Regions from separate parts of the Homo sapiens genome. Here regions 2, 3 and 4 are each linked to region 1. The links are contacts of gene promoters, found by promoter capture Hi-C in blood cells and fetal thymus (Javierre and others, 2016). All regions are on one chromosome and are shown on one strand. Each heading gives the region's core, a stretch centred on a gene start or on the middle of the fragment in contact. The rest is flanking DNA. Distances are from core to core; before and after follow the strand shown.

The links. The method cuts DNA at HindIII sites, captures the fragments that hold promoters and counts their contacts. A CHiCAGO score of 5 or more calls a contact.
Region 2: a contact is called between a fragment that was not itself captured here and the fragment with the promoter of SLC45A4 in region 1, in 2 of 17 cell types (total B cells and naive B cells). The highest score is 5.7, in total B cells.
Region 3: a contact is called between a fragment that was not itself captured here and the fragment with the promoter of SLC45A4 in region 1, in 1 of 17 cell types (neutrophils). The highest score is 5.9, in neutrophils.
Region 4: a fragment that was not itself captured here is called in contact with the fragment with the promoter of SLC45A4 in region 1 in 1 of 17 cell types (neutrophils); the score reaches 5.2 in neutrophils.

What each region holds. Positions count from the first base shown.
Region 1 is chr8:141,305,241-141,310,904 of GRCh38, reverse strand. It overlaps SLC45A4 (solute carrier family 45 member 4), which reads left to right and starts at 2,617. Exons shown (of 9, transcript NM_001286646.2): 1 at 2,617-2,809. RefSeq lists silencers at 2,382-2,621, 2,642-2,741. The HindIII fragment of the contact is 5,295 bases long and covers 501-5,664 here.
Region 2 is chr8:140,781,161-140,786,611 of GRCh38, reverse strand. The region is part of intron 14 of PTK2 (protein tyrosine kinase 2); the gene reads left to right. Among named protein-coding and RNA genes, the nearest start is that of MIR151A, 51 kb to the right of the region's middle. The HindIII fragment of the contact is 235 bases long and covers 3,679-3,913 here.
Region 3 is chr8:140,579,561-140,585,687 of GRCh38, reverse strand. It overlaps AGO2 (argonaute RISC catalytic component 2), which reads left to right. Exons shown (of 19, transcript NM_012154.5): 2 at 377-569. Among named protein-coding and RNA genes, the nearest start is that of ERICD, 52 kb to the left of the region's middle. RefSeq lists an enhancer at 5,950-6,049. The HindIII fragment of the contact is 2,117 bases long and covers 2,738-4,854 here.
Region 4 is chr8:140,461,847-140,467,541 of GRCh38, reverse strand. LOC105375782 (a long non-coding RNA gene) reads right to left here and starts at 2,671. Exons shown (of 2, transcript XR_928707.3): 1 at 2,492-2,671; 2 at 603-1,757. RefSeq lists a silencer at 1,648-1,747 and an enhancer at 2,244-3,443. The HindIII fragment of the contact is 6,324 bases long and covers 877-5,695 here.

The sequences.
Region 1 (5,664 bases), core at 1,368-3,867:
GCCTCCCAAGTAGCTGGGCCCACAGATGCACACTGCCCCAATCAGCTAATTTTTGTATTTTTAATAGAGATGGGGTTTCGCCATGTTACCCAGGCTGGTCTAGAACTCTTGAGCTCAAGCAATCCACCCACCTCGGCCTCCCAAGGTGCTGGGATTACAGGCATGAGCCACCACCATGCCCAGCCCCAAGAAATACTTATGGAGCACCTACTACAAGGCTGATCCTAGACTGGGCTCCATGGCTACCATGGCTGGTACATACCCCACAATGCACTCCTTAAGAAGAGAGATGGGATCATGTTCCCAGCTCCAGTACTAGGACCCAGCAAAGCGTGTGGCACATAGTAGGCACACACTCAGTAGTTGGTTACTGCATGAATGACAATGAAGACAATTCAATCAATACCAGCAATTTGTGAATAAACAAAGTCTTTACCTGTTCTGTCCTCTTGATTGTATTGTCATTTTAAAAAGCATCATTTTGCTATTTTGTTTAAGCTTCAGGACAACTTGTGAACTAGGTACTATTAGAATGCTCACTTATAGAAGAGGACTCAGGGAGGTTAAGTAGGCGCCCAGGCTCACACAGTTGGCTCACAGCACACCTGGAATTGCCGCTGCCTCTATCCTTTGGCCATTGAAAGAAAAATCACCAGGGAAGCAGATGTACAGTTTGAGCACTCATGATGTGTCTGATGCTGCTTTGGACTGTCTACAGACCATTGATGTACTTACTAACCCTCTGTTGAGATACTGCATACACATGGAAAAACACACACGTCTTTTTTTTTTTTTAATAGAGATAGGGTCTTACCATGTTGCTCAGGCTGGTCTCAAACTCCTGGGCTCAAGCAATCCACCCGCTTTGGCCTTCCAAAGTGTTAGAATTACAGGCGTGAATCACCGTGCCCCACAGGCACATGCATCTTGACTGCACAGCTGGAAAAGTCATCATAAACTGAGCACACTGTAACCAGCACTCAGACCAAGACACAGAACACAGCCAGCCCCCAGACACGTCCTCTGTGCCCTGCTTCCTGGCTCTGGCACCCCTCCCTCCAAGGGTAACCACTATCCTGACTGCTACCCCCATATACACCTTCTACCACTTTATCCACATGGAAACAAATATGGCTTTTTATCCTCTGGCTTCTTTTCCTCAACATCATTTGTGAGAGTCATCCATGTTGTTGTGTGTAGTTGATTATTCACTGTCATTGCTGTCATTCCACTGTGTGAATATATCACAATTTATGTATCCATTTAACGGCTGATGAGCATTTCAGTAGTTTCCAGTTTGGGGCAATTATAAACACTGCTGCTATCAACAGAAACACAATGTTAGGTGTGTATCTAGGAGCAGAATTGCTGGGTAATCAAGGCCTTTCAAAAAGATTTTGAAAGTTGTACCACTTTGCATGTCCACCAACAGTGTCTGGCAGTTCCAGTTGCTCCATTTCCTTGTCAACACTTGATATGGTCAGATTTTCCCATTTCCGATGCTCTTGGAGGCTCTGCTCTGCACTTCACTTCTAAATTCCTTTAGCAACAGGTGAGATGGATCTTACGATTTCTATTTTACAGATGAGGACGCCAAGGTTCTGAGAAATGAAGTAATTCCTCCAAAGCAACTTAAACCCTGGCAAGGGTGCAGGGCTGCGACGTTAACAGGGTTGGCCTCAGCCCATCACATCTGTCTGTTAAAGCCGCCTCCCCAGACCTTGTCTTGATGGGGTTTCCCAGCAGTCCTGCCCTAGGGATTGTGGCCCTTCTACACGTGGGGAGAGACGGATCAGTGTCCCTGGCCAGGGCCAAGCCTGAGAGGGAGGCCCAGCCTCCAGGAAGCTCCGGGTCGGGTCTTCGTCCTGCCCCGCTCTCCAGGTTGGAGAGGGGACCCGCAGAGCGCGGGGCGTTGGGGGAGTTGGGGACGGGGGCGTGGTCCGGGACCAGGTAGGAGGTCTTCGGAGGGTGGCAGGGAGGGGAAAACAGGAGAGTTTTCTCCTGCAGCGGAGGAGGGGCTGCAGCACCTGGATGGGGCCCATGTCGCCGCGCCACGGGCAGGGGCGGAGGGGGCGGGAGGGTGCTTGCCAAGGGGCTGGGCTGCCGGGGGCCGGGGCCTCGTGGCTAGCCGGACCCCTCTGCGACAGAGTGGCGAGAGGAGCGGGGAGAGAAGGTGGGGACAGGCGGGGGCCACCTCCTGCGGCTGCAGAGAGGGATGGGGTGGATTGCGGGCCAGCGCTTTAGGGGAGAGAGGGCGGACGCTCGGTGCGGAGGGGCCGGGGCCGGGGCCGGGGCCGGGGGCGTAGCGGGAGGAGGGCGGGGGCGGGGCTGGATTATGGCTGGGGGCGGGGCCATGGCGAGACGGGGGCGGGAGCCACGGTGCGCGCGGGGGCGGGGCAGGGGCGCGGCGGGGGCGGGGCGGCCGTTCGGGGGCGGGGTGGGCGGCAGCGGAGGCCAATGAGCGCGCGCGGCGCAGACCCCGCCCCCCGAATCCCCGTCCCGCGGCGGCGGGTGCTGCATAGTCATGAGGCGCAGGGGCCGGCGCTGCGTCAGCGGAAGCGGCGCGGAGCGGCTGTTTCCGACCCGATAAAGCGGCGTTGTCTCCGCGCGCCGGCCGCAGCCTCGCAGCGCTCTCTCCGCGCCCGCGTCGCTGACTGACCGCCCGGCCGGCCGGCCGAGGGAGCAGCCCCCGCCCGGACCCGCAGCCGCCTCCCGACCCCGGTGCGCCCGGGGCTCCGCGCCCCCGTAGCCCCTGCCCGGCCCGGCCCGGCCGCCCCGCCGCCCCCGCGGCCCCGGCCGGAGGAGACAGGTGAGTGGCCTGCCGCCCGCAGCCGCCTGCCCCGCCGCCCCCTGCACCTCGCACCTGGGCGCCGGGCACCTGCAGCCTCCCCACCCCCACCTCCCGCACAGCCTCGGCCTCCAGGTCGGGTCCGCGCCGCAGCCCCAGCCCCGCACCTTCTCCGGGGGAGGGGACGTGCCCCCACCCGGCTTGCGCTGGCTCCTCAGGGCCCCCCAATTCCTTCCCGCCTCCTCTTTCCGGATTGCACCTGCCCTGGTCCCCAGCCCTGCAGCCTCCCTCATTCCCCCCACCCCGGCCCCCACCCCGGGGCGCGCGCCTTCATTTGGACCCGGCCCGCTTTCGCACCCATCAGTCCTCCCCGCCCCCAGTTCCTCGGTTTCTCTACCCAGAGAGGAGCCTGGCGCCTCTAACTCCTGGTCCTGACCCTGTCTTGTCCTTCTAACCCCTGCCTGCTATCTCTAACTTATGAGAATTCAACCAGCGATACACCACTCGCGAAGTGGCCCCCTCTCCCCTCTGTCTGGACCGGTCCTCCCAACCGAACACACTCCCTTCTTCCCCTTCTTCCCCTTCCCTTCTTCCCCTCCTTTCCCTCTGCCCAGTGCACACACGACCCTGGCAGCACTGCTAGCCAGTGTCCCCCGCCTCGGACCCCCAGCCTGCACCGCCAGACTGTGGCTCTGCCCCGGTCTCATCGGCACTGCGCTCCCTTGTGTCCCTTTGAAGATACCTTGATTTCCTGAGACCGACCTTGTCCCTGGAGGAAAGAGGCCAGGGCATCAGTTCATCCGGGCCCAGATTCCCTGCTCTGTAGAAGTCCCCGCACCTTCTGCGTCTCAGCACCCGCTGCCCCTTTCCCCTTTGCGCTTAACCCGTTCCTCCCCCAGGTATCCTGCTCTGGATTGGAGCACTTCCAGCAGCGGCTTTTCCAGCGGAGGCGGATCCACACGGGGCCCAGCCTCCTGGTTAGCTATTCAGAATGATTCTAGAAGGCGGGGGCTAGGGAGGGCTGGGAAGGGCCGCTTGACCTCCTAAGGAGCCTGAGGTGTTTGTGTCTCTCCAGTGCGGGTCACTGATGGAGTGTGGCTTCAGGTTCACAGACCTAGCCACTGACCCCCATCTGATACCTCAGCTGACTCCAGCAAAACAGGGCTTGTCGTTTTTATTACTGTTTTGGGGGCTGTCTTTTCCAGTCTATGACCCGGAGCGAGGAGGGTTTACCAGATGAGTGATTGAACTAATTGTTGTGGGGTCAGATGATTCTTGTGGGCTGGTAGATTCTGAATCGAAGCCCATTTCTGCTGGGGAAAAGCCACTGCATCTGCCCAGCATTACTGAGAGCGCCCTGCGCTTCCATTCCCCAGACGGTCTCATCCTTCCTGTGTCATTGGCAGACAGGTAGAATGTGGTAGGAATCTTATCCTTCTGTTATTTTGTGCTGGCTTTAGGAAAAAATAAGAAAACAAAAAGCTGGAGTATTGGTGTACAGGTTAGGGAGTGTAACACATGGGGATCAGAGCAGGTAACACACACTGTCCTTAAAAGAAATGTATAGTGTCCTCACTTTTCTGCTAGGTTTGAATTATTGTTAAAAGAACGAGCAGAGATTATTTAAATGCTTGGGAGAGGTTTTGCAGAAGCCACTTGATGAGAAGAGGCAGCCCTGCAGGTTCCGGGTGGAGGAGACTCAGGCGCAGTAAAGAACTCATGTGTTTCTAGAGAGAGGCTGGGGAACTAGGTCGTCTTACACATCAAGGATTTCACACCCGTTCAGGCTAATTGTTTTTGTGGCAGTGGCTGTAAAGGAAAGAAGCAAATCGTTTGAAATGTGTTTGAAATACACACTGGGTATTTAAAGGTGTGTTTTTTTGGCCCAGGTGTTCACAGGGCGGGGAGTGGGGAGGCTGCCCAGGGCCACCTCCCGGGCCTCGTGGGGGGAGTGGCCTGCTGCCCTGCCGAGATGCGTGCTGCAGCTTTGGCCCTTGTCGCATCGTGAAAGCAGATCAGAGATTGGACTGGGTGAGCTCCAAGGTGTGTGTCTTGCAGCTTGTAACACCCTCTAACTTTGCTTATTGGAGGGGGGTGGGGGAGGGGCGGAGCAAGCCTGTAAACCGGATTCTGCCTCCTTTCCGTGAGCTCTGAGATCCCGCCCCAGCCCGCCCCGCAGATCTGCAGGGAAGGAGAGGGCTGCGGCAGCGGCAGCTCCCCACTTTCCCGATGGAGGAAAGGAGCCGAGGAAGGTATTTCAGCCAATCTTGAGGTTGCTTGGTGGTGAATGGATTGTATCTGTGTTGTCAGGAGAGAGGTGGGGAGGACAGAGGAGTGCAGCGCAGGGGTTCGGGCTGTGATTGTCGTTCTGACCGTGGTGCATCCCAGTGCCCTCTCCCGCTCTTCCCGAGGGTCCTGACGCCCAGTGGCTGGCTGGGGTGGTTTGTGACCAACAGCCTTGTGGCCTGGCACCGAGTGAGGGTGACTGACAAGCACTGTAGGTGGCAGACAACCCCAAATTGCCAGTGCCCTTCTTGGGAACACCCCTGGCAGAGTCGTGTCTGTAATTTGTGGAGGCAGAATATGCTGGAAGCCGCGTTCCTGCTAATGATGGGTGAGGACTGTTCCTCGCTGGCCTCCTAGGTTCCCCAGGTTTTCATCACTGCGTGATTATGCTGACGAAGGCGCACTTAGTGAAACACCATCAGAAGGGTTGTCTCCACCTGAGCCAGGAAACAGATTTGACCAGAGGGAGCAAACCTCCCAGCCGAAGAGCAGCCTTGTAGAAAGGAAGGGGTGAGAGGACCCCAAAAGCAGGCGTCTGCAGTGGGTTTTCATGCAGAGGACCTGAGCGGCTGCACCTCCCCCACCGGCTC
Region 2 (5,451 bases), core at 2,547-5,046, 530 kb after region 1:
CCATCCTTTTTTCCTTCTGTCATCCTGACATTCAATGGTGTGATATGTTTCTATCTTCCACAAAACCATAAAACCTAAAAACTGATAAGCCTAGCTGGCCAGGAACCAGTACATTGCACTTAGCCCCAGAGCTGGTAATTCACATTTCTAGGGACATCTTTGTTAAGCCGATACCTAGAAAAACGGTAATCTTACTAAATCCCAGGGTTATTTCTTACCTGCCAACCTGGAAACACCGTACTATGTGGGATGTAGTGCTGACACACCAAGGTAGAGGCCCTACTGCTCCTGGATCCTTGTGAAATTCTGCATGTGCTTCTCCACAGTAAGCGTGTTCAGTGTCTAGGATAGTGGGGTGAGGCTGCAGTCAACTGTATGCCAGCTGCAATTACTTGTTTTTCTGTCATACGATACTTCATTTAACCCCTAACAAGCCCTGCGGGATTGAAGAGACCTCAGTTTTACATTTCTGTTTTACATTAATCCGGCCAACAGATAGTTCTTGAGTGCCTGCAGCGTGCTGAGCACTATTCTAGATACTGGAGTCTGCTAGAAAACAAAGCCACGTCCCTCCCTTTATAGAGTTTACATTCTTGGTGAAAGAGTCAAACCATAGATAGTGAATTAAAATAAAGCAGATGAATTGAGAGCAACAGGAAAGTTATTTAAAATTGTGTTTCTGTATGACAGTAAACCTGCACATGTATTAACTCGTGTGGGATTGTAAAGCCCTTCATAATTGTTAAATATTATTTAATCCCACAGTGGCCTTGCAAGGTATTTATTATCTCTCCATTTCACAGATATGAAGAATTAAATTCAGAAAGGTAAACAAACTTATTCAGTGTCACACAGCTTGAAAATGATGGCACTAGGATCGGAACTCAGGTCATTATTACCCTCTAGGCTCTATTGCCTGTCATGAGCAATTTGAGAGAGTTTGCTCCCCTGTACTGATGAACTGTTACACTCCCAAGTGTCAATGAAGATGGAGAGTCTTCATGGGATTTGTCTGGCTCTCCCATTTTTCTTCACAACCAAAGAGTTCTTACCTGACCCAAGTCTGGGTTCATATGTCAGTACCTCATAGAAAGCTTTCCTGAGTACTTTAAGAAGATCTGGACTCTTCCTCCTCAGAGCTCTATAGTGCACTGTACATTTCTCTCTTATGCATAGTCCTAAAATAAATGTCATTGTGTTTTAGAAACCATCTTGTCCACAAAACCATGAACCCATTGCATGTAAAGACATGTTCTGTTTATCTCTTTATTGTCTGGGATATAAGTTTTGTAATTGTTTTTAAATAAATCCATGAATTCCTGAGTAAGGTATGGAGGTGTGCTGGGTCTTAGAGGAATGCATTCTGGGTAGCGGGAACCGACAGCAGAAAGGCAGGAATATTTGGACCGACCAGTGTCACTGGGGCTCTCAAGGGATTACCTGTAAGCTTGTCACTGTAAATTGTTCTTGATTTTTTCCTAGGAATCATTATAAATGGTTCTAGATTCCTTCCTAGGAGATGTTGGGCAGGGGTAGAGAGGATAACCAACAGAAAAAGCGAGGATCTAGATAACTTTAGGACAGTTTGTCGCTCTTTGTGGGTCTCTCTTGTTGGCAAATAAAGCAATATCCTTACATTCCGGAGAGAAGATACCAGGTACTTTTTCATATTTTGTTGCAAAATAAAGGTAGTTATTGGATCACCTTCAGTAAGATTGCAGTGACAGTTGATGTTGAATATATGAACAGTGTATCTTTGAAATTCACACAGTATTTCTCTACAAAAATAAGTGTAAGATTAACAGAGATTTATAAAAATATCTAACAGAACAACATGTGTCCCTGCCTGTATTGTTCTGAGAACCTGTAGAAGTCTTTTTTTTAAGCCTAATTATTAAGTTATAAGGAAACTTGTGCTTGTTGTGGAGCTCGGGTACAACTTGGAACATATCTGAAAGTCAGGTGCTGCAGTCTATCATAAGGGACCTGTAAGTATGCTGAAAGAGGAGGTGTGGCCTCTGTGGGGAGGGAGTGCTTAACCAATGGTTGTGTGGGTTAAAATTACCCTAGAAATCAGGTATTTCCAAATCAATGAGTAAAGCTGTATTTTAAATATTTTGAAGGTATAAACTTGGGGGTTTTGTTTGGTGGATTATTGTGTTTGGGTTTTTTTTTCTTTTTCTTTTCTAAAATAACGAAGCCCTTGATCAAGCAGTAAAACCTTAATTATGACCAGAAGTACAAGATAACACATGATAGTAATACCATTGCATTATGCACATGGCTCTTGTTACATGTTTGGACTACACATGTGGCACTAGAGATAATACAAGTTTTCTCATTTGTATCTCTGTCATGTACACCAATGCAGTGATCTTTTTCAAATGCTTGGTTTGATTGTCTCTAAGCCCTTCATGCTAAAGGGCAATTATACTACTTTGTGATAGTTTTTTTCCCCCCACTTTGTCACCCAGGCTGGAATGCAGTGGTGTGATCTTGGCTCACTGCAACCTCCGCCTCCCAGGTTCAAGCCTCCTGCCTCTGCCTCTGCCTCCCGAGTAGGTGGGACTACAGTTGTGCACCACCACGCCTAGCTAGTTTTTGTATTTTTAGTAGAGATGGGGTTTCACAACGTTGGCCAGGCTGATCTCGAAGTCTTGACCTCAGGTGATCCACCCACCTCGGCCTTCCAAAGTGCTGGAATTAAAATTAGTCGTGAGCCACCACGCCTGGCCCTTTGTGATACTTTTTCAGTATTTGTTGCAATTTAAATAAATTTTTAATTTTCTAACATTATTTTGGTTCAGTTGTTTATCATGCAACATAATTTCCTTTATTCAAGATTACTTTTAGGTTTTTCAGGTTAGTGACTGGAAATTATTCTGAACTATTAAAACATTTAATGAAATAAATGTTATTTGTATTTTGTATTAAGCTGCTTCATTACAAATTCTAAAACAGCTCACTTGTATATGCAAAGGTGGTTTGTAAACTGTAAAGTTCTATAAAATATAAGGTGGTATAGTCTATAATAATTACTGCATTTTATCTCTTTCTGTGTGGTCTCTGATACACTAGATTTGTTACCTATTCATGACTATGCCACTTATAAATACAGGTAGTTATTTACATATGCATGTGTCTTAGAGATCATGCCTGGCCCATCCACAGGCATCATTTTGTTTAAACCTCATGAGAGTCTTCGTAATATTTTCACTTTACACATAAAGAAATAAAGACACTCGGAGCTGAAGTGGTTTGGCCAAGTTCACATAGCTAGTAAGTAATAGCCTGATGGAAATCTTGATCTTGGACTAGAAGGTTTGTTCTCTTTACATTAGACCATATTGACTCATTTCTTTCTTTTTTCTGGAGACATGGTCTCCCTCTGTCACCCAGGCTGGATTGCAGTGGCTTGATCTCAGCTCACTGCAGCTCAACCTCCTGGGCTCAAGTGATCCTCCTGCCTTAGCTTCCCAAGTAGCTGGGACTACAGGTGTGCGCCACCATGCCCAGCAAATTTTTGTATTTTTTTTGTAGAGACGGGGTCTCCCTATGTTGCCCAGGCTGGTCTCAAACTCCTGGGCTCAAGCGACCTGCCTGCCTCTGCCTCCGAAAGTGCTGGGATTACAGGTGTGAGCCACTGCACCTAGCCTATGTTGACTCATTTCTAAAGCTTGATAATATAAATGTGTGGAAGGAAATAATACTTTGAAAGAGTTTGCGTGTGATTCCATTAAGGTTTTTTCCCCTCATTTATTAGGAATAGGATAGTGCTGACTCAGTTCCAACTCTCAGAAGTGTGCCCTGTATTCAAGTTTGAAAAAGGTTCTTCTGTCTAGTTTTACACTCTAGTTTCAATTTTGATAATGCTGTGGGTTTCCAAGGTAGTCTCTATCTGTTGCTGAAAGCTTGATTTAAATGCTAGCTTTTAGGAATTAAAAGGGGAAAGAAAAGAAAAAAAAAAACCTTGCCCTAATTTGAGAGCATTGTCACCTATTATATAAGTAGTTCATTTTTTTCCCTACCAAATCTACGGGACACTGAAAAAATTAAAAAGTAAAACTAAATTTAGGCCAGGCACAGTGCCTCACGCCTGTAGTCCTAGCACTTTGGAAGGCCAAGGCAGGCAGATTACTTGAGCCCAAGAGTTTGAGACCAGCCTGGGCAACATGGTGAAACCCTGTCTCTACAAAAACTGTAGCCAGGCGTGGAGGCGTGTGCCCATAGTCCCAGCTACTCAGAAGGCTGAGGTAGGAGGATCTCTTGACCCTGGGATTTGGAGGTTGCAGTGAGCTGAGATCACCCCACTGTACTCCATTCTGGGTGACAAAGAGAGGACCCTGTCCCCCCCCCCAAAAAAAAAAACAACCAAATTTTAAAAGATAAATTCATTTTTGTAAATTATATGCTTTGTGACATAATTTAATCAAATTAATGCTACTAATAATTTTTATGTGCACAAAGTAGTAGGTATTGAATGTTATTGATCTGTTCCTAGTACCTGGCTCACTGGAAATTATTCTGGTAGTCAGTCTGGTATTAGGAGAGACTCCAAACCACTGAGAAGCGTACAGTTGTCACTGACTTCATATGGATAGACTGGCTGATCGTGTTGTGCATGAATAAGGAAGTGAACAATCAAAATAGCCCAGCTGTGCTGCCTTCTTTCCGATAGCCCTCCCTCTCCCACCATTACATCATTCGAACTCCCTTTGCCACTGTTGAGATCGGGGTGTTCTTCGTAGTCATACCGTTTCTTCTCTGGGTTCTAAAGCAGTTGAAAAGAATACTTGGAGGTCATATAGGTTTTGAAATATCAGCATCGTATGTTGTAAAGAAGTATCCTGAAAAAGGACCCGGAACCACTCCTTCACCCTTGAGCTGAACTCGTCTCAGCTGCAGGCAGTGCAGACAGTGCAGACAGAAACTCACAGACCTCCCTGGCAAGGGGTAGCCTGAGGCACTTTCAAATTTTTAAAAAGGCCAAATGAAAAGCTGAGCAATAATGAGTACAACAAAAATTTAAAGTGGATTTTTGTTTTTATAAACTCTTCCCAGCCCACAGAAATCCAGCTCAGTCTTATAAATTTTGTTTCCAGAAGAGAGTATTCCCATCTTCTCCCAAGCAGCCCCCACGCTATAAAGGGGAAAAGACTATATGAGAGTATTAGAAACAAAAATGTATTTTTGTCTTTATAAAATAAATGCTTCACAGTTGGCAGTATTGGGTATACTTGGCTTATGAACCATCTTGATCCTCTGGCGAAACTTATTAACAATAATTAATAAACTTCTCAATCTTTTTAAAAAAATATATTATTAAAACACAAAAAGCCCAAGTATCATCATCTTACCAAATATAAAATAAATATTGCTAACATCAAAAGGCCCAGTTATTTTTTTCTTTGCAGAAAATAATTTTAAAGGGAATGCTTGAAAGTTTAAAAT
Region 3 (6,127 bases), core at 2,547-5,046, 730 kb after region 1:
TGCATAGTAAAAAGCGCTTCCTGAGTAAACGAGCGGTTTAAGCAGCAGCAAGGGAGGGGCACCGCCTTGACACTTTTGGGCTCTTTGCCTTGTCTCCCGTGCTAGTAATTCATGCTGCCTCATCTCTCCAGTGTCTGAGACAGGAAGAAAGAACAGGAATGGACATAGCAAGTTTGATCACCAATGAGTTGTTATGATACATTTTAAGTACATTATTGGCTTGACGTTGAGACGCCTCCTCTGTGGAATGCAATATTGGCCTGGACGTGAATGGAAACAGCAGAGGGGGGCATATAGTGGCTTGGGGCCGCGGGATGGGAAGGGCCGCAGAGCAAGCCTGCTCCCCCGTTAATGGGTGTTCTCTCTGCCATTCCAGCACTTGCACCTCCTGCGCCGCCGCCCCCCATCCAAGGATATGCCTTCAAGCCTCCACCTAGACCCGACTTTGGGACCTCCGGGAGAACAATCAAATTACAGGCCAATTTCTTCGAAATGGACATCCCCAAAATTGACATCTATCATTATGAATTGGATATCAAGCCAGAGAAGTGCCCGAGGAGAGTTAACAGGTATTACGTTTCATCCTTCATGACCTGTGTAAGTGGTCTGCGCGGACAGACACGGCATTTAAACTAATCAACTCTGAAATTCTCAGCAGATCCATCTGGGTTTTTTCCAGAACGTTTCAGCTGCATTTGCTTTTCAAAAACAGTTTTTCAGAGTCAAACCTACGGATTGAAAAAAATATATATATAAATATATACCAAGTTTTTGTATTGAGACACAGTTTCAGGATAGTGAAATACATACATCGTAAATGCACAACTGGAAGAATTTCGACAAATGTATATACTGATCACCCTAGAAAGTTGCCTCATACCCTCTTCCGGTTACCCCCAGCCCCTAAAGTCACGGCATTCTGATGTGTGTCACATAGATTAGTTTCCAGGTCTGTATAGTGACACACCCTCAATCCCGACTGCTTTTACTCAGCAGAATTTATGAGACCCACCTGCGCCGTTGTGTGTATTTGTAGCTTATTTTTATTGCTAAATACTCTATTGCCTATTTCGTAGTCTGTTTTTCATCTTCCTTTTAAACACATGGGCAGTCTAGGCTGTGGCCATTATGAATAAGACTGCTGTGAACGTTCTTGTTGAAGTTCTTTTTGTGGAGGTGTTTTCGTCTCTCTTAAATAAATACCTAGGAGTAGAATTGCTGGGCCGAAGGGCAGCTGTGTGTTTAGCTGCATGTGAACCTGCCAAATAAATGGTGTTCCCATGCTCCCATCACGTTTTCCTCCCGTCAGCTCCGCTGAGTGTTTCCAAGGCCACCCACCCCCACCAGCACGCGGTGTGGTCAGGCGTGTTTTTTTGTGTGTTTCGGTGGGTGAGTAGTGGTTTCTCATTGTGGTTAATTTTCATTTCTCTGGTACCTGATGAGCTGAGCATCTTTCCATGTGTTTATATATTATTTTCATCGATTAAGTGATATATTATTTCCAGCAAAGTGTTGAAGTATTTTGCCTGTTTTGTTTTTTTTTTTTTTTTTACTGAGTTTCTTGTCTTTTTGTTATTGATCCGTGAGAGTTTTTAGTATATTCTAGATGTACATTGCATTTGTAAGCATCCTCCGGAGCGACAGAACCAATAGGATAGAGATACAGTCATGTACCGCATGACAACGTTTGGCCAGTGACAGACACATATACCACCGTGGTCCCAAAAGATTGTAAGGGAGCTGAAATCATAGCCCACGTAACGTAGTAGAGCAATGCGCTACCCTTTCTGAGTTTAGATTTTTTTATTTTTTCTTTTGAGATGGAGTCTTGCTCTGTCACCCTGGAGTCCAGTGGCATGAACTCAGTTCACTGTAGTCTCCACCTCCTGGGTTCAAGTGATTCTCCTGCCTCATCCTCCCAAGTAGCTGGGATTACAGGCACCTGCCACCACACCTGGCTAATTTTTTGTATTTTTAGTAGAGACAGGATTTCACCATATTGGCCAGGCTACTCTTGAACTCCTGACCTCAAGTGATCTGCCTGCTTCAGCCTCTCAGAGTGCTGGGATTACAGGCATGAGCCACTGGGCCCGACCTAGGTATATGTAGATGTACACATCCTTACCATGGTGTTACAATTGCCTGCCGTGTTCAGCAGTCGTGTGCTGTACAGGTTTGTGGCCTAGGTGTGTGGTAGACTCTACCTCCTGGGTATATGTAAATATACTCTATGATGTTCACACTGCAATGAAATTGCCTGAGTGAATTTCTCAGGCCATATCCCCATGGTTAAGCCACGCATGACTGTACATATATCTATAGATATGAGAGGGGATTTATTAGGGGAATTGGCTCACATGATTGTAGAGGCTAAGATGTCCCACAGCAGGCCATTTACAAGCTGGAGACCCTGGAGTGTCAGTAGCGGGGCTCAGGCCAAGTCTGAAAGCCTTATAATCAGGGAAGCCAAAGACCTGGAACCCACAGGGCTGCTGCTATAAGTCCTAGAGCCCAAAGGCCAAGGGAGCCTGAAGTTCTGATGTCCGAGGCAGGAGGAAGACAGTGCCCCAGCCCCAGGAGGGAGAGAAGAAATCACTCTTTCTCTCCTTTTTTTCTGTCTGTGTCCCCAGCTGATTGGATGGCACTACCCACACTGGGGGCAGATCCCCACCTGGTCCCTGACTAACACGCAGTCTCCTCTGGAAGCAGCCACACAGACATGCCCAGAAGTCAAGCTTTACCAGTTCTCTGGATTATTCTTTAATCTAGACACATTGGCACCTAAAAATCAGCATCATACAAGTCTATACTGGGAATATTTTCTCCTAGTCCAAAGTTTGTCATCTCACCTTCCTGTTGGTGTCTTTCTTTTAATGAGTAGAACTTTTTAGTTTTGTTGAAGTCCAATTTATAAATTTTTAAAAATAGCTGTTACATAGTGTATTCTCTCTAGGAAATTTTTGCCTACCTAGGGATCATAAAGATATTCTCCTGTTTTTATTTTAGAATTATAGTTTTTGCTTGCATATTTAGTCCACGATCCATCTTGAATTAATTTTTATGTATGTTGTGAGGTAAGGGTCTGTTGAAAATACTTTTCTTTCCCCACTGATTTACCTGTTGACCTTTAAAAAAAATAATTTGATTGTACAGGTTGAGTATCCCTTACTGAAAATGCTTAGGACTAGAAGTGTTTCAAGTTTTCATTTATTTATTTATTTATTTGAATTTTGGAATATTTCCGTTACGCTTACCAGTTGAGCATTGCAGATCTGAAAACCTGACACCCAAAATGCTCCAATGAGCATTTCCTTTGAGCGTCATGTTGGTGCTCATAAAGTTTCAGATTTTGGAGCATTTTGGATTTGGGGTTTTCAGATTAGGGGTGCTCAACCTGTATATGTGGGTGGATCTATTTCTGGATTCTCTTCTGTGTTGTCTTTAGGCCAGGAACTCTTGGTCATTTTAACTATAGTTAAGTGGTAAGGCTTGAAATCCGATTAAATAATTCCTCCAAATTTGTTGTTCTTTACAATTGTTTTAGCTATTCTAGATCTATTGCTTTTCCAAGTATATAGAATAATAAATATAAATAACTTATCAATTTCTGCTAGAAAGCCCCTTTGAATTTTTTATTGTGGTCACTATGAATCTAAAGTATGCTATGTTCTTGGATGCTATTATAAATGGTTGTGTAAATTTTTCTTTTCCTGGAATGGTGGGGAGTGACTGCTGTTGAGTATAGTGTTGATTTTGGGGGTGGTAAAAATGTTCTAAGCCATGGTGATGGTTGCAGAACTCTGAATATGCTAAGAGAGAGAATGTCTGGGGACTTAGTTCTCATATCTGTAAAACTAAACAGTTGGATTCACTCAACATGTCCAGAGTATGTTGAGAGTTCTATGAGGTTCTTTAAATATGCACTTACTAAAACCATGTATTTCTGAACAAAAACTATGTGCACCACTGGGTTAAGCAGCTTTCTTTACTAAAGGTCTTCCTAGATCTTTTAGTATATCTCACTGCTGTGTGGCTCTCCATCAGTGGGACTGCTGGTTTGTTTTTGCGTTTCCCTGGGATAGAACCCTGTGTGAATCTGTGATTTAGGGGGTACTCCTAGAACCAGAATGAGAGCATAAAGCAGTATACACATTTCCTTTTTTTTTTTAGAGACAGGATCTTGCTCTGTTGCCCAGGTTGGAGTGCAGTGGCATGATCTGGGCTCACTGCAACCTTCACCTCCTGGGTTCAAGCGATTCTCGTGCCTCAGCTACCCGTCCGGAGTAGCTGGGATTGCAGGCATGCGCCACCACACCCGGCTAATTTTGCATTTTTAGTAGAGACTGGGTTTCACCATGTTGCTCAGGCTGGTCTCAAACTCCTGGCGTCTTGTGATCTGCCTGCCTTGGCCTCTCAAAGTGCTAGAATTACAGGCGTGAGCCTGTTTAGTAGAGACAGGGTTTCACCATGTTGCCCAGGCTGGTCTCAAACTCCTGGCCTCAAGCAGTCTGCTCACCTTGGCCTCCCAAAGTGCTGGGATTACAGGTGTGAGCCACTGTGCCTGGCCCACATTTTCTGGGCTGTTGACTGGTGCGGTAGCAGGGGGGCCCTTAGGCCATCGACCACAGTACACAAGCAGCTTTCTTTTACGAAACTAGGCATGGCCAAGGCTTCGTTATCTGACACCAGAAAGAAGCTGAGGGTGATGAGAACGTGATGTCTTTCCAGGACTGTGCTACTACACTCCTGTGGTTTCGCCTGCCAGGCTCAGGTCACGCAGTTGGTAAGCAGCAAATGCAGGGCAAGAGCTGCATGCACAGGGCCAAGGCCAACCTGCTAGGCTATGAGCAAGCTTGAGAGTGGCTGCCTAGACGGAGGAACCTTTAGGCCCTATCTCAAAATTATAATCAATCAAAACAGCATAGGAAAATGTCAGAAGTAAAATGTTTGTGCTCACAAGACCTGTGTGGGAGCCCTGGCCTACCTCCTGCCTCCTCCCATGACCCACCTTCCTGAGACCCCCCGCTCACACATCAGTTGCAGTGCCCTGGGGGTGCAGTGGTGGCTGAGGCAGACATGGCTCCTGTCCCCAGTGGGGAGGTGGATGGTGCTCATGGTCAGCGCCGCTGGAGGGGAGCTCCGAGTGGAAAGGGAGACGAAGGTGGGGCCCTGAGCCCATCATGAGTCTGGGCTCCTCCGTCGTGCTGCTCAGCATCTCCTTCCCATTTCTCTTACCACACTGCAGCCTCTGTGAGAGCAAGGATGGCGTCTTAGTCGTGAGTTCCCAAAACCTTGTACAATGCCCCGGGTAGATGTTTAATGAGTCCAACACAGAGGCTTTATCCAAGGCCATGAGAAAAATGCCCTTGCACCTCAGTTACCTCTGTGACATTCTGACAACTACACAGTGAAGCAGCCTCAGTGCCCTCAGGCCCTGCAGTATAGTCCACCCCTTTCCCGGGGCTGCCGGGGTGGGGTTTGGTGCAAGCAAGACCCTTCCTCCCAGGAGCGTCCCGTACAGCTGTGGGCACCAAGGTGGCTGCACAACACAGCCAGTCTTGAGCCAGCCCCGAGAAAGAATGGGGGCAAGGCCCACACGACCTAAGCCTTGCTGAAGTCACGTGGGCCTTGCCCCCATGCTCTGTTCCGAGAAGCACGGGTGGGCTGCGAGGAGGAGGTGGGCTCCTCTCCCTTCCCCTGCCCCTCTTCCTCCTTGTTCGTCTTGAGCTCCGTCAAGTGGCCCCAGAAGAACCAGCAGATGCGATGGCCCTGTGCCTGTGGAGCAGGGGGCCAGGCAGCATGGCTGTGTCACACTCAGCCTTGCGCCTAGAGCTCTGTGACTCTGGGCATGAGCCACTCACGGGAATGCAGGTGGACCCTGCCTGTTTACAAGACAGTCTGGTGCGGGTATTGCAGGTATTAAAGCAGAAACATCGTGTACCCTCTGACCCACCCGTTCTCCTTCTCAGTCTCTATATCTCAAGGAGATGTATAGGATGACTACTCTGAAAAAAAAAAAAGAACAACAAAAGACACCATCTAAGTATCAGTAGGAAGTGGTGGGTTAGAGGAGTGCGCTGGGGCATGCAGTGTGGTGCTTAGCAGGAGTGGAATGGGGCTCCCAGGC
Region 4 (5,695 bases), core at 2,789-5,288, 840 kb after region 1:
CCCAGCTTCAGCCTACTCTCGATTTGCCCAGAACTCACTGACCTAAGCTCCACTGACAAAGTGACAGAAAAAATCCTGGGTTTCAGAAGCAATTTGAGGCAATTAGATGCAAATTCAGCCCAGATGAGGACGTTTGTTTTTCTAGTGTGGCTACCTAGCTTGTTCCGGCACCTGGTGGTCACACATGGAACTGCAGCTTCTCATACGTGATCCTTTTCGAATTTTTTTCCTTTCGAATCCTTTCTTTTCTTGAACTTTATTTTGTAACGTAAAATCTGATTTGCTTAAGTTGGACTTATCATAATTTTCTTTTAAAAGCTTTCTGGTTCTAACAGTGACTGCCCTGCATCGGTGAAAACACTTGGTTAAGCATTAACTGCTCAATTATCACAATTAATCTTTTGATATAATTTCTTGGTGTGTATGTGTGTTTGTGTACATAATTTTCCATTATTAATTCAAAAATGAATTGCTAATATATACTAGGTACTGAGGCAGATGCTGGTACAAAGTAAGAATAATCAGGATGGCTAATTAAAGTAATGCTTCTAATTATACCCCATGAAACAAGAAACTTCATTTATCTACAAAGGAAGGAAACCTGTCAGTAAATACTATTTATTGATCACCTATTATGTATCAGGTAACATGTTCCTTCCCAGAATATGTCACAGAGCACGTGCACTGTTTGAAATGTATTAAATGGTAAATGACAGTCATTAGTAGGCTGCTTTTGATGATCATTCTTGAGGCGTCTTTGGATGTTAAATTCATTGATGAAAGTTTGATGAACAGTCTACTTTGTTATCTCAAAGTATCATACAAATTACTTATTAATTACAGAGAAAAAAATAGGAACTTTACAGTGGAGAAGCTTGGCACCCTTCACCTTAACCAAGCAACCAATGTTACCATTACAAACAATGGGACAAACCCACATCATTTGCCTCCTGATATAATGCACCAAGGATGCCGCACCAAGGATGCCATCACTTCTGAGGTATTTTTGCAAAACATACATAACCTGAATCTAATCATGAGAAAGCATCATACAAACTCAAATTGAGGAACATTCTACAAAGTAGCTGGCCTGTATTCTTCCAACATATTAGAGTTGCTAACCTAAAAAAGACATCAGAGAAAGATGTCTCCTAATATAATTAATTTATTCAGGAGCAGGCAAAAAGGATGGTGCACCTGGCTATATGGCTATGGCAAGCCACAGGTGCACCTGAATAGGGCAGGGGTAAGTGGGAGCTCTTATTGGCCAAAAGTAGAAGTTCACATAAGCTGTCTGGAAACAGGTTTCTTTGGTTCTGGAGGCTCAAAGCCGGAGCGGCATCAATTTATTTTTGGAGATGCCGCTACTAGGCAAGTGTTCTTTGGAGAGCATCTTATTTGAATTGCTGTCGTCCGAAAGAATGCCTAGTGCTAAGCCTGGTCACAGAAATAACAGGGTGGCGCATGCCTGGAGTCCCAGCTACTCTAGAGGCTGAGGCAGGAGGACCGATTGAGCCCAGGAATTTGAGTCCGGTCTGGGCAGCACAGCAAGATCCCTGCCTCTAAATCAATAAATGTGTGCACATGTGCAAAACGTAGGTGGAGAAACGCATGAGACTTGTGACGTACATGAGGAATTCCTTGTGTGGTTATTATAGAAAGTCCTTGAGACAGTTCTTATCTCAAACATCAGCCGTCCTTTGTGCATTCCTGGCTTGGTGTGCTTGGGTCTGAGTAGAGTTGTCTCATCCTGGTAGCTGCAAGTTTCACAAAGACATGAAAGAGGAAGAAAGACTGAGACCCTGTTCTAGATAAAAGGATACTAAAAAAAGATTTGACAACTAATTGAAACAGTATGATTCTGGACAGAGGGGAAATAGCTATAAAGGACATAATTGGCACAGAGAGAGAGAGGAAGAATGTGAAAATGAGGCAAAAATGTAAAAATTGGTGATTATGGATAAAGGATATAATCACGATTCTTATTACAATGCGTGTCAATTTTGTGAATTTAAAAGTATACATATAAAGTACATATATAGTAATACATATAAATATAAACACCCCAAAAAGTGTTCCCGAAAGTAACAAGCTCTTTGAGAATAACTGATCTCTTTAAAAATGATTTATGTTTCATTATAAAATCAATGTATGTATGCTTAAAGAAAAAAAATGAGACAATATAGAAAAGTAAAAAGAAAACTCATCAGTCTCTGACACATGTCACAGCCCACAGCTACCTGGGAAGGCTGAAGAGTGCAATTTCAGCAGAATGTCAGGGGAGGAGCAGGATTGTACTAGGTGGAGAATATTCTAGACTGAAGGAACACCACAGAAAAGACAAGAAAGCGTGGAAGGGCGTGGCTTGAGGAAAAAGGTCGGGAAACTGGGGGTTGAAGAATGAACAGGTGAGATGGGTAAGGACTTCCAGAGAAGAATGACTACTGGGCTGGGGGGGGGTGACATCTGGGCCAGTCACAATTCTCCTCACGTGTCGCCTTCCACAATGCCAGGCACGCGCCTGGGGTTGAATACATATTTCTGGGCTGAATAACCGAATGTACAAAAGGCAGGCCCTAAATTTCCTCTCCGCCCCTTAGCGTGCCCCGCAGCGACATCGTCACAAGCGCGCGGCTTTTGGTCCCCGCCCTGGGCCTCAGGGCCTCGGGGCCGCGCGCGGGGCGTGGTCAGCCGGAGCTGTGACGCACCCGGGACGCAAGCCGAGGGCTCGGTTTCCACGGCAACAGGCGCTGGGCCCCTGTTTTTCCGCTCGCGCTCGTGCGTCACTTCCGGTCGCTCCCCTCTTTTTTTCAGCCTTGTGTAGGATAGGTTCCGATTGGGACCAACGTCGGGGTGGGAGTGGTACTGGGGAAGGGCTGTCCAAAATGAATCTTCGGTTCTGCGTGAAGAGCCGGGTGTCAGGCAGGTGGAGCTTGGCTTCCGTCCCCTAAGCCAATCGCTTTCCAATCCGTCCCCTAGGCGCTGCGGGAAATTGATGCCTCAGCTACCGGCGCTGGAGCATGCGCACTGCTACCGGAGGCGCCTCTGGGAAATCCAGTGCTCCGGGATTTCCACGCAGCCGGAGGGAATCCAGAGGGGCGAGTGATGGGCGTGGCATCAGGGGGCAGGGCGTACGAGTCACAGTGTTGATTGGCCGGTGAGAGGCCCGGGCGTGGAGCGGCAGCGGACCCCTGTGGCGGGCTCTGGCGTTTCATTCATTCGTTCATTCATTGAATGAACTGATTCACTCCATGTTTACTGAGTATACGCTGTGTCAGAGCTTGTGTAGGCGCTGGGGATTCAGAGCCGAGTCGGACACAGCCCCTGTCCTTAAGGAGCCCACGCTTCGACTGAAACCGCGGCGTCCCTGCCTTTCTTCGTTTGCACCTTATCTCCTCTCTTCTCTCAAGGCTGGTGTCCTTGCAGAAGGCGGCGACGCTCAGCCCATCTTACCTCAGGGACCCTCTCCGAGGCTTCCACACTTCTGAAAGCAGCTGTTGAACACGGAAAGGCCTGGCGTGGAATCCTGGCTAGCGCTCAATCACTGAGCCGCTTCACCCACTTTACATTCACCTCTGAAAGCATGATGCAGGCGTCCCCAACTTAGGGTGGCTCGACTTAGGGGATTTTTCAACTTTGCGATGGGCTTATCGGGAAGCAACCCATCATAAATCGAGGAGCATCTGTATAGTTATCTTGCAGAGGGCAGTGAGGTTTAAAATGAGCTTTGGTGCTTATCTTGAGGTTGAGTCCGAGTTTCTTCCTTACACGATTATTGTGAGGATATGAGATATTTATGCCAAGCACATTGCACATTGCCTGCCAGATAAGAGTTTCATAAATGAGGCCGGGCACGGTGGCTCACGCCTGTAATCCCAGCACTTTGGGAGGCCGAGACGGGCGGATCACTTGGGCTCAGGAGTTCCAGACTAGCCTGGGCAACGTAGGGAAACCCTGCCTCTACAAAAAAATTTACAAAAATTAGCCGGGCATGATGGGAGGCTGAAGTGGGACGTTGGCTTGAGCCCAGGAGGAAGAGGATCCACAGTGAGCCAAGATCGCACCACTGCGCTTCAGCCTGGGCCACAGAGCAAGACCCTGTCTCAAAAAAAAAAAAAAAAGATAAAAAAAAGTTTTGTAAATGGTAGTTACCATCGTGTTATTTTGAAGGAAGAGTTATGAAGGTCTAACCAAGTAGCTGGTTCTTAGTTGTGCTAAATAAGTATAGTTATTTTTTCCCTCCATAGCCTGTGAGCTAGAAAGCCCAGGTGAGACATGACACTATGGAGTCCTATAACACGGGAAGGAGAAGAAACTCTTTATGGTACTGGTGGGGGATCAAAACCCTTGAGAGGTGCTGGCTTTTGTGCAAAGTGGAGTGATTGGATCACCCAACCGGAACACCGTTAGCCAGGACATAAGCTGGAATTGTACCAGGAAAGTAAAGCTATATGGTCACCTTACCCTGAGGCTGTACAAGTAGCATGTGACAGAATTTGTCCATTCTGTCTCAAATTGCCTTCTCACACTTTCTTTAATCCTAATGATAGCCCTATGAAATGATTATCCTTATATAATAACTGAAAATATGGAAGGCAAGTAATTAGGGAGTGATGGAGCAGGGACTCTGTCCTAAACTTTTTTTTTTTTTTTTTGAGATAGGGTCTCACACTGTTGCCCAGGCTGGAGTCTAGCCTGCACTTTTTTTTTTTTTTTTTGAGACGGAGTCTTGCTCTTGTTGCCCAGGCTGGAGTGCAGTGGCACGATCTCTGCTCACTGTAGCCTCTGCCTCCCAGGTTCAAGTGATTCTCCTGCCTCAGCCTCCCGAGTAGCTGGGATTACAGGCGCCCACCACCACGCCCGGCTAATTTTTGTATTATTATTATTATTTTTAGTAGAGACGGGGTTTTGCCATGTTGGCCAGGGTGGTGTCAAACTCCTGACCTCGTGATCCACCTGCCTCGGCCTCCCAAAGTGCTGGGATTACAGGTATGAGCCACCGTACCTGTCCCAGCCTGTACTTTTAACTCACAGCTGTGATAATTGTCAACCTCAGCAAGCCTTGTGGGGCATTAGTCCCATATATAGATTATATATATATTATATGTGTGTGTGTGTATGTGTGTGTGTATATATATTTAGACAGAGTTTCACTCTTTGCTCTGTCTCCCAGGCTGGAGTGCAGTGGCACGATCGAGCTGACTATAGCCTTGACTTTCTGAGCTCAAGCAATCCTCTCACCTCAGCATCCCAAGTAGCTGGGACTACAGGTGTGCACAATCGTGCCGGCTATTTTTTAAATTTTGTGTGGAGATGGGGTCTAGCTATGTTGCTTGGGCTCATCTCTAGCTCCTGGGATCAAACAATCCTCCCTCCTTGGCCTCTCAAAATGCTGGGATTACAGACATGAGATACCGAGGCCAGCTTGGTCCTATTTCTTGAGACCCCTTGACTGGATGTTTCAGGGAAGCATATTCTGGCTGAGTTTACTGGATAATTTTCTTGTAGAGCTTGTTATGAACTGAATGTTCATGTTCTTCCCAAATTCATATGTTTAAATTTATTCCCCAATATGATCATATATGGATGTGGGGCCTTTGGGAGGTAATTAGGTCATAAGGGCAGAACCCCCATGAATGGGATTAGTGCGCTTCTAAGAAGAGACCAGGCTGGACACGGTGGCTCATGCCTGTAA